2 separate regions of the Homo sapiens genome follow, and region 2 is linked to region 1. The links are contacts of gene promoters, found by promoter capture Hi-C in blood cells and fetal thymus (Javierre and others, 2016). All regions are on one chromosome and are shown on one strand. The core of a region is centred on a gene start or on the middle of the fragment in contact, and the rest is flanking DNA. Distances in the headings are between cores, read along the strand shown. Region 1 holds the start of CCDC142 (coiled-coil domain containing 142). Region 2 overlaps SLC4A5 (solute carrier family 4 member 5).

Region 1 (4,212 bases), core at 1,379-3,878:
GGTGGCAGGCGCCTGTAGTCCCAGCTACTCGGGAGGCTGAGGCAGGAGAATCACTTGAACCCGGGAAGCAGAGGTTGCGGTGAGCCAAGATCACACCATTGCACTCCAGCCTGGGCAACGGGAGCAAAACTCCATCTCAAAAAAAAAAAAAAAAAAGAAATACTGCTCAGGGGAAGATGAGGCTATGGATGTAATGTTTAGTTCAGGCCAGATACAAGGAGTCTTGATATAAGGGAATGGCAGCAAGACCAGGAACGGAAATGAGGGGCTTCTGTCAAGAGACATTTAGAAGTAGATTTTAGTGGCCGGCATGGTGGCTCATGCCTGTAACCCCAGCACTTTGGGAGGCCGAGATGGGTAGATCACAAGGTGAGGAGTTTGAGACCAGCCTGGCCAATATGGTGAAACCCCTCTCTACTAAAAATACAAAAATTAGCTGGGCGTGGTGGTGGGTGTCTGCCATCTTAGCTACTCAGTAGGCTGTGGCAGGAAAATTGCCTGAATCCGGGAGGAGGAGGTTGCAGTGAGTAGAGATGGCGCCACTGCACTCCAGCCTGGGCGACAGTGTGAGACTCTGTCTCAAAAAAAAAAAAAAAAAAAAGTAAATTTTAGTGACTAACTAAATGTTTGAGGTAAAAGAAAGGGATATAAAATGATTATCAGATTTCCAGATTAAACAACTAGATGAAAGTTTGTGTTATTAACCAAAATTGGGATTAGAAGAAAAGCAACCAATTTACAAACATGATAAATTAATTTAACAAAAGTTAATTAAATTAACTTTTGGGTTTGAGTTTGAGATTCTAGGGAGTATAGCGCCTCAATGCTTCCAAATCTGATCCTGTCCCTCCTTCGAAAACCCTGCTGTCTACCGGGCATGGTGGCTCACACCTGCAATCCCAGCACTCTGGGAGGCCAAGGCGGGCGGATCACGAGGTCAAGAGATCGAGACCATGCTGGCCAACATGGTGAAACCCAGTCTCTACTAAAAATACAAAAATTAGCTGGGACTGGTGGCATGTGCCTGTAGTCCCAGCTACTCAGGAGGCTGAGGCAGAAGAATTGCTTGAACCAGAGAGGCGGAGGTTGCAGTGAGCCAAGATCACACCACTGCACTCCAGCCTGGGCGACAGAGTGAGACTCCATCTTAAAAAAAAACAAAAAACAAAAAAACTCTGTTGCCTACTTGAGAACATCCAAACCCCTGTGCTAAGTCAAAGCCTTTCAAGCCATCTGCTGCCTTCTCTCCCACCCCATCTTTTACTGTTCCAACCAGATTCTCTACTCTGGTCTCACTTTGGTAAAGTTCTCTCAACTTTTCCTTGTTTTACTGTCTTTGCTCACACTGTCCCCTCCATCTATAAAAAGATATTTTTTCATTTTTTTTTTGAAATGGAGTCTCCCTCTGTTGCCCAGGCTGGAGTGCAGTGGTGTGATCTTGGCTCACTGCAACCTCTGCCTCCCGGGTTCAAGCGATTCTCCTGCCTCAGTAACCCCAGTGACTGGGATTACAGGCGCACACCACCACGCCCAGCTAGTTTTTCGTATTTTTGGTAGAGATGGCGTTTCACCATGTTGGCCAGGCTGGTCTCGAACTCCCGACCTCAAGTGATCCGCCCCCCTAGGCCTCCCAAAGTGCTGAGATTACAGGTGTGAGCCACTGGGCCCAGCTTTTTTTTTTTTTTAGACAGAGTCTCACCGTTCCCCAGGCTGGAGTGCAGTGGCACGATCATGGTTCACTGAAACCTTGACCTCCCGCGCTCAAGAGATCCCCCACCCACCACGCGGGCTAAATTTTTTAAAAACATTTTTGTAGAGATGGGGTCTCACTATGTTGCCCAGGCTGGTCTCTAACTCCTGGGCTCAAGCAATCCTCCCGTCTCAGCCTCCCAAAGTGTTGAGATTACAGGCACAAGCCACCGCGCCCGGCCTCCATCTTTTCCCAAGGAACTCGTACCCACTCCCTAATCCTCAACTCAGAGACCCTTGTCTGCTCAATTCTACCCACTTCGAGCATCTGTTACATCAGGATCATCCTCCTGATCCCCTGCCCCTCACTTGCCTAAGATCCTCAAGGGCATGGCCGGAGACTACAACTCCCCAAAGCCTCCAGAGCCCCGTCTGGCGCCCATCCGTCGCGGGTTTCTGCACAGCTGACTTCAAAGAGGCGTGACCAAAATGAGCAGGACTGGGGGAAACTGAGGGTCGCTTTTACCTCTTCGCCGTAATCCTCTGGACCGAATTCCTTGCAAAGTTTGGGTGCAGCAGCGACCTCCAGTGGGCAGCTGGGCCGTAGAGAGCAGTCTACAGGAAAGGAAGGCGGAGCCTCGTCAGCGGGCTCGGGACAGATGGGCTAGAGTCCTCCCCACTCTACCCTCGACTCTCCGCCCTCTGCATAAAATCCTACTCGAAACGTTCAGACCACAGGTGGACCCAAGAGGGGCTGCCTCTGCCCTCCTAGACCCCCACTGGTCTTGTCATACCGCTCACCTAGCTTGATCCGCCCCACAGTCTTTGGAATCGGCGCCATCGCATCTACAGTGACCCGGAAATGAAAGGTAGTCTAGTATTTGATACCAGCCAAAGGGCGGGGTGGGACAGAGTGGGCGGCCATGTTTGTTAGGGGCAGAAGCCTCCCATTACGGAGCACGAGAGAGTCCATGAAGGTCCCCGCGACTCCCGGACTGGAGAAAACGGCTCTTGCGATGGGGCGAAGTCCGAGCTGCGGCGGGCGTTGGTCCGTGCAGGGAAGTGGGAATCGTTAGGTTCGTTCTGGACCCGCCGCCCCATGGCCCAGGCGTCTCGCTCAGGTAGCCTGCCTCCACTCGTTATCGTGCCCCCGCTGAGGGCGCAACCCGGGGGCACTGGGGAGGAGCAGTGGGAGAGAAGTCGAACGGGCGGTCTTCGCTGGGAGGTTCACTGCTGGCCGAGCGGAACTTCTGGAGGGACGCCGTGGTGGCCGACGCCGGCGGATGTGAGCGAGGACTACGAGGCTGATGCTGCGGCCTGGAGGCGGGGGCCCGCAGGTGGCGGCCCGATCCCTCCCGCGCTGCAGCGTCTCCGGGCGGTGTTGCTGCGGCTGCATCGCGAGCGGGAGCAGCTCCTCCAGGCCCGAGACTGCGCCTACCACCTACAGTCGGCTGTGCGACTCATGAAGACCCTGAGTCCTGGCTCGCCATCCGGCGGCCCTAGCCCCTTGCCCCAGTGGTGCCGCGACCTGCAGCTGCACCCTTCCCAAGGGGCGGTTCTGCGAATCGGCCCTGGGGAGACTCTCGAGCCGCTGCTGCTAGCGCGCCCCATCGGACTAGCCGCCCAGTGCCTGGAGGCTGTCATCGAGATGCAGCTTCGCGCTCTCGGCCGGGAGCCCGCCAGCCCGGGCCTGTCGTCCCAACTCGCCGAGCTGCTCTTTGCACTTCCCGCCTACCACACACTACAGAGAAAAGCCTTGAGCCACGTCCCAGGGGCCGCACGTCCTTTCCCCACGTCCCGTGTGCTCCGCCTCTTGACGGGGGAGCGGGGTTGCCAGGTGGCAAGTCGGCTGGACGAGGCGCTCCAAGGATCGGCGTTGAGGGACCAGCTCCGCAGGCGGTGCCAAGAGGAGGGGGATCTGCTACCAGGGCTGCTGGGCCTGGTCGGGGGCGTGGCGGGTTCAGCCAGCTGTGGACTAGGGCTCGGAGGGGCTGGGGCCTTGTGGAGCCAATACTGGACCCTGCTGTGGGCAGCCTGTGCTCAGAGTCTGGACCTAAATCTGGGACCCTGGAGGGACCCCAGGGCAACAGCGCAACAGCTGAGTCAGGCACTGGGTCAGGGTGAGTGATGGGCTTGGGTGGGCGTTTGGGAAGGCTGGGGTCTCTTCCTTCCCCTTGGCCAACTCACTGACCTGCCATCCTGAAGGCAAAAGCAGGCCCTTTAGAAAGAACACCCCTGGGTTCAGACTATAGCTTCTGAGCTTTCAAGGCAAAGTCTTGCTTTCCACCCCAGTCCCGAGTCTTGGAGGAAGCATGCCTTCTTGCCTCATCATTGAGTGGGCAGGGGTTGTGGAAAGTGAGACCTTGTTTTCAGGCCCCAGAGTCATTTCTCCCACTAGCATCCCTGCCTCAGGAGTGTGAGAAGGAGCTGGCATCTTTGTGTCACAGACTACTTCATCAGTCGCTTATCTGGAGCTGGGACCAAGGTGAGAAGGAAGGGGCACTGGGGGTGACATAAGTCCCA
Region 2 (4,212 bases), core at 637-3,136, 240 kb after region 1:
CCGAGGTTGAGAAACCCTGCTATATGGGAATTGCCTGGTTACTTACCTGTGTCTCCCACTGGAATGAAGATATGTTATCTTGTTCAGTGATGGGTTCTCAATACCTTTCACAATGCCTGGTACACAGCAGACACTCAGCGGACTTTGAATAAATGAATGATCTGACCTCTAAAAGCACCAAACAGATGTTTAGATGAATGAATAATCAGATGGATAAATGGGCTGTCCTCTGGGAGTAGAATGGACACAGAGAAAAGCACATCCACTGTTTTCTAGGCCCTGGGTGCCAGAAGGAAGTCACATGGTACCTTTATCTAGATGGAATTAAACAGAGTGACAATGGCCATGGTGGCAAGTTGTGGAGGGTGTAGGAGATGGAGAACAGGATTTAGGGAGGAAAGGGCCCAGAACGAAGGATAAACACTGTGGCCTGGGCCCGTGGAGAGATCGCTGGGGCTGCAGCCTGTGTGGAGAGACCGCTTCTCCTTCCTATGCTGAACCACACATTCCTTGTGCCCCCAGGGAGTGATGGAGAGCTTCCTGGGCACTGCCATGGCTGGCTCCTTGTTCTGCCTCTTCTCGGGACAGCCTCTCATCATTCTCAGCAGCACGGGGCCCATCCTCATCTTTGAGAAGCTCCTCTTCGACTTCAGCAAGTAGGTGTCCCTTGGTGGCCCCCAGTGCCTGCTCTCGCATTTGGGGCAGTATGCTGGGGCTAGGGCAGGGGAATAGGTCCCAAGGGTAGGTGGTGGTGCGGTGGTGCCAAAGCCATCTTTAACTATGGGAAGGGCTACCAGGTGGCCCCTCCTGACTCCTGCCAGCTACCTGCCTTTAAGACATCTTAGTGCATATTGGCACAGCCCATAGGGACCAGCCACGACAAGAGGAGAAAATTCACACCACTCAGTTTGTGAGCAATGGTGACTTGATAGGCAGTATAGTGTATGAAGTCTTGGGCTGAAGGTCAGAAGGTTACACCCAGACCCAGGCAGCTCCCATCACTACTCCAGGCTCAGTTGCCTCCTCTACAACATGAGGGTTTGGACCAGACCATTTCCAAGGGCTGCTCCAACCCTGTTCTTCCAAAATTCCCTGTTTTTCACTCACTCTGGTGTCTGTTACCAACTGTGAGCACTGAGATGTCTTGGCACCTTCCTGCCTCCTCCATAAGATCTTTAAAAAAAATTTTTTTTTGGCCGGGCGTGGTGGCTCACACCTGCAATCCCAGCACTTTGGGAGGCTGGGGCGGGCGGATCACCTGAGGTCAGGAATTTGAGACCAGCCTGGCCAACATGGTAAAACCCCGTCTCTACTAAAAATACAAAAATCAGCCAGGCGTGGCGGCGGGTGCCTGTAATCCCAGCTACTTAGGAGGCTGAGGCAGGAGAATCACTTGAACCAGGGAGGCAGAGGTTGCAGTGAGCCAAGATCACGCCATTGCAGTCCAGACTGGGTGACAGAGAGAGACTCTTTCTCAAAAAAAAAAAAAAGTTCTTATAAAGATGAACACTGGACCCCCATGAAATCTCAAAGATCAGACAACTCTGCCCAAGAATTGTCCCTGTCCCCAGTCTTTCACAGTCCCTGGGAGGGCATCAGTGCCACAGGAGGACAGATAAGCCACTTAAGGATGAGTCTGAGGAGTCAAGCACAGCCAGGAGCCCTGGGCTGGAGGCCCCTCACCTCCCCTCTGCCTTCCAGAGGCAATGGCCTGGACTACATGGAGTTCCGCCTCTGGATTGGCCTACACTCAGCTGTCCAGTGCCTTATCCTAGTGGCCACAGATGCCAGCTTTATCATCAAATATATCACCCGCTTCACCGAGGAGGGCTTCTCCACCCTTATCAGCTTCATCTTCATCTACGATGCCATCAAGAAGATGATCGGTGCCTTCAAGTACTACCCTATCAATATGGACTTCAAGCCAAACTTCATCACTACCTACAAGTGCGAGTGTGTCGCCCCTGACACAGGTGACCGGTAACCCCAGACATGCCGTGGGCCCTCACCTACCCCACCGGCCCCCTGATCCTTCACCACAGCTCTCTACTTCTACTGCTGGGGAGGGGCCATTCAGCCAAGGGCTTACAGTTCCAAGAGAGCAAATACAGGGTCTTGAACCCAGTGTTTGGAAGGAAACCAAGGGGACAGTAGCTCTAATAAGAGTCACAGGGTTGTCATCAGGAGGGCACAGGGATATCCTAGGAAGGAGTAAGGCATGCTTTGCCTCAGTGTGGGGTAATGTGGAGGCCACACCTATCAGGAGTGCCACTCAGGGGTTCCTGCTGCAGGCCAGAGATAGAACTGATGGTGCCTGAAGTCCCGCCCAGCTCCATCAAGTCATGATACGATGAGCTCTCCCCAAGACAGAGCTGCCCGTGTGGCCACATACCGTGTAAGGTGAGACCACACCTGAGGGATGGACATCCACACAGATGGAAACATGTCCAGAGTGGAGGCTCTGTCATCCATGCCATCTGAGAACAGTTGGAGAACCGGGGCTTATTCAGCCTCTTATGAATATGAGAGTTATGAGAGAAGGACTGTCATGTCACAAAGGAGCTGTGTTCACCCTCTGAAACCACAGGATGTAGAGCTGAATGAGGAACAGGGAGCAGAAGCTCCAGGAAGCCAGATGCTGGCTGAATTTAGGAAAGAACCTACAATGGTGGGCGTTAACCACCATGGGAGTTCTCGGCCCCCTTGGTTGGTAGCAAGTTACTTGGACACTCTCTGGATGTCCATCTGCCAAGGATATTGTAAAAAGGATCCCTGTACAGATGGGGTCAACCTGGTAACACCCAGTGCCACTCCTGTGGAGTTACTTTCTGGCCAAAACACCTGTCATCTGTAAATTAGGGCTTCCCATAGCATCTGAGCCTCCTCCATAGTCATGATCATGCCCCTAAGAGCTTTCAGTGGGATGTGCCCAGAGTGCCCAGGGTGCTGCAGAGCAGGAGCAGGAGGTCTATGCACACATCTCCAAGCACCAAGGCTGGACTCACAGAGAGCAAACTGAGGTCCAGAGACCACCCAAGGTCATGCCAAGCCTCAGTTTCCCTGGCTGTAAAAGAGGGGTCTCAATGCGGGCCCTGGTGGTCTCCTGGGACTCCTGTGGGGTTTCCAAATCTATACCCCGATTGAGTTGAAGGAAATAAGTGGATAGTGGGTTCAGCCCCTTAATACATTACTACGGGTAAAAAAAATCATAAGTCAATCGAAAATATTTGCTGCACAATTATTGTATGCCCTACTTTAGGCCTTGTGGAAGATAAAGATGTCCTGCCTTCAGAGAGTTCAGTTTTGATTATAACCCCTTCTCTCTGTGACTGCACTGATTTTGTAAAGAAGTCCAGACTTTTTTCTTTCTTTTTTTCTGTCATTAATTTTGAGTTATTCCACTAAAATCTAATGACAGGTGATGCTACCCTTTGTTCTGAGCCAAGGCATGTTGCTTGCCCAGAGGGGATCCTACCTGCAGGCAGGCCCTTTTCATTCTGCCCTGGAGCAAATCCTGCCTCTGTGGGGAAGCCCCATCAGGGCCCTCCTACGTGCTTGTATCTTATAGACTGTAGATTCAGTGTTGCATTGACGTAAATTTTACACAAACATAGCTTCTAGAAGCACACATCCTTGATCTCTTTTAGAAAAAATCCAAATTCTGTTTATTTTTATTTTATTTATTTTTTTGAGACAGAGTCTGACTCTGTCGCCCAGGCTGGAGTGCAATGGCGCGATCTCGGCTCACTGCAACCTCTGCCTCCTGGGTTCAAGCGATTCTCCTGCCTCAGCCTCCCAAGTAGCTGGGATTACAAGTGTGCACCACCACACCCAGCTAATTTTTGTATTTTTAGTACAGACAGGGTTTCACCATTTTGGCCAGGATGGTTTCGATCTCTTGACCTCGTGATCTGCCTGCCCTGGCCTCCCAAAGTGCTGGGAACTCAGGGGTGAGCCACCGTGCCTGGCCACTTTGGCCATTCTGAGAATCATCTATACACAGGAAAAAACAAACCCGGGGTGCTCTAGGAACAAGGGCCATAGGATCATATAAGGTGCATTATGAGGGACATAATGAAGCCACCTGTTCCCAAATAGCTTCCCCTCTGGCTTTGCCCAGGTGCCTGATGTCACCTCATTCTTTGGGGTCATGCTATTGTCATGGTTCTCAAAATGTCGTCCCTGGACCAGCAGCATCAGGGAACTTGTTAG

Evidence for each region. Contacts are between HindIII fragments. The CHiCAGO score rates a contact against its expected background, and 5 or more counts as called.
Region 2: a contact is called between a fragment that was not itself captured here and the fragment with the promoter of CCDC142 in region 1, in 5 of 17 cell types (total CD8 T cells, naive CD4 T cells, total CD4 T cells and 2 more). The highest score is 5.4, in total CD8 T cells.

What each region holds. Positions count from the first base shown.
Region 1 is chr2:74,481,414-74,485,625 of GRCh38, reverse strand. CCDC142 (coiled-coil domain containing 142) reads left to right here and starts at 2,628. Exons shown (of 9, transcript NM_001365575.2): 1 at 2,628-3,809; 2 at 4,088-4,174. The coding sequence starts at 2,789. It overlaps TTC31 (tetratricopeptide repeat domain 31), which reads right to left and starts at 2,545. Exons shown (of 13, transcript NM_022492.6): 1 at 2,491-2,545; 2 at 2,216-2,304. The coding sequence starts at 2,530. RefSeq lists enhancers at 2,116-2,225, 2,546-3,085, 3,196-3,315, 3,386-3,485. The HindIII fragment of the contact is 7,623 bases long and covers 1-4,212 here.
Region 2 is chr2:74,244,797-74,249,008 of GRCh38, reverse strand. SLC4A5 (solute carrier family 4 member 5) reads left to right here. Exons shown (of 31, transcript NM_133478.3): 18 at 523-656; 19 at 1,702-1,973. Among named protein-coding and RNA genes, the nearest start is that of MTHFD2, 48 kb to the right of the region's middle. The HindIII fragment of the contact is 6,305 bases long and covers 1-4,212 here.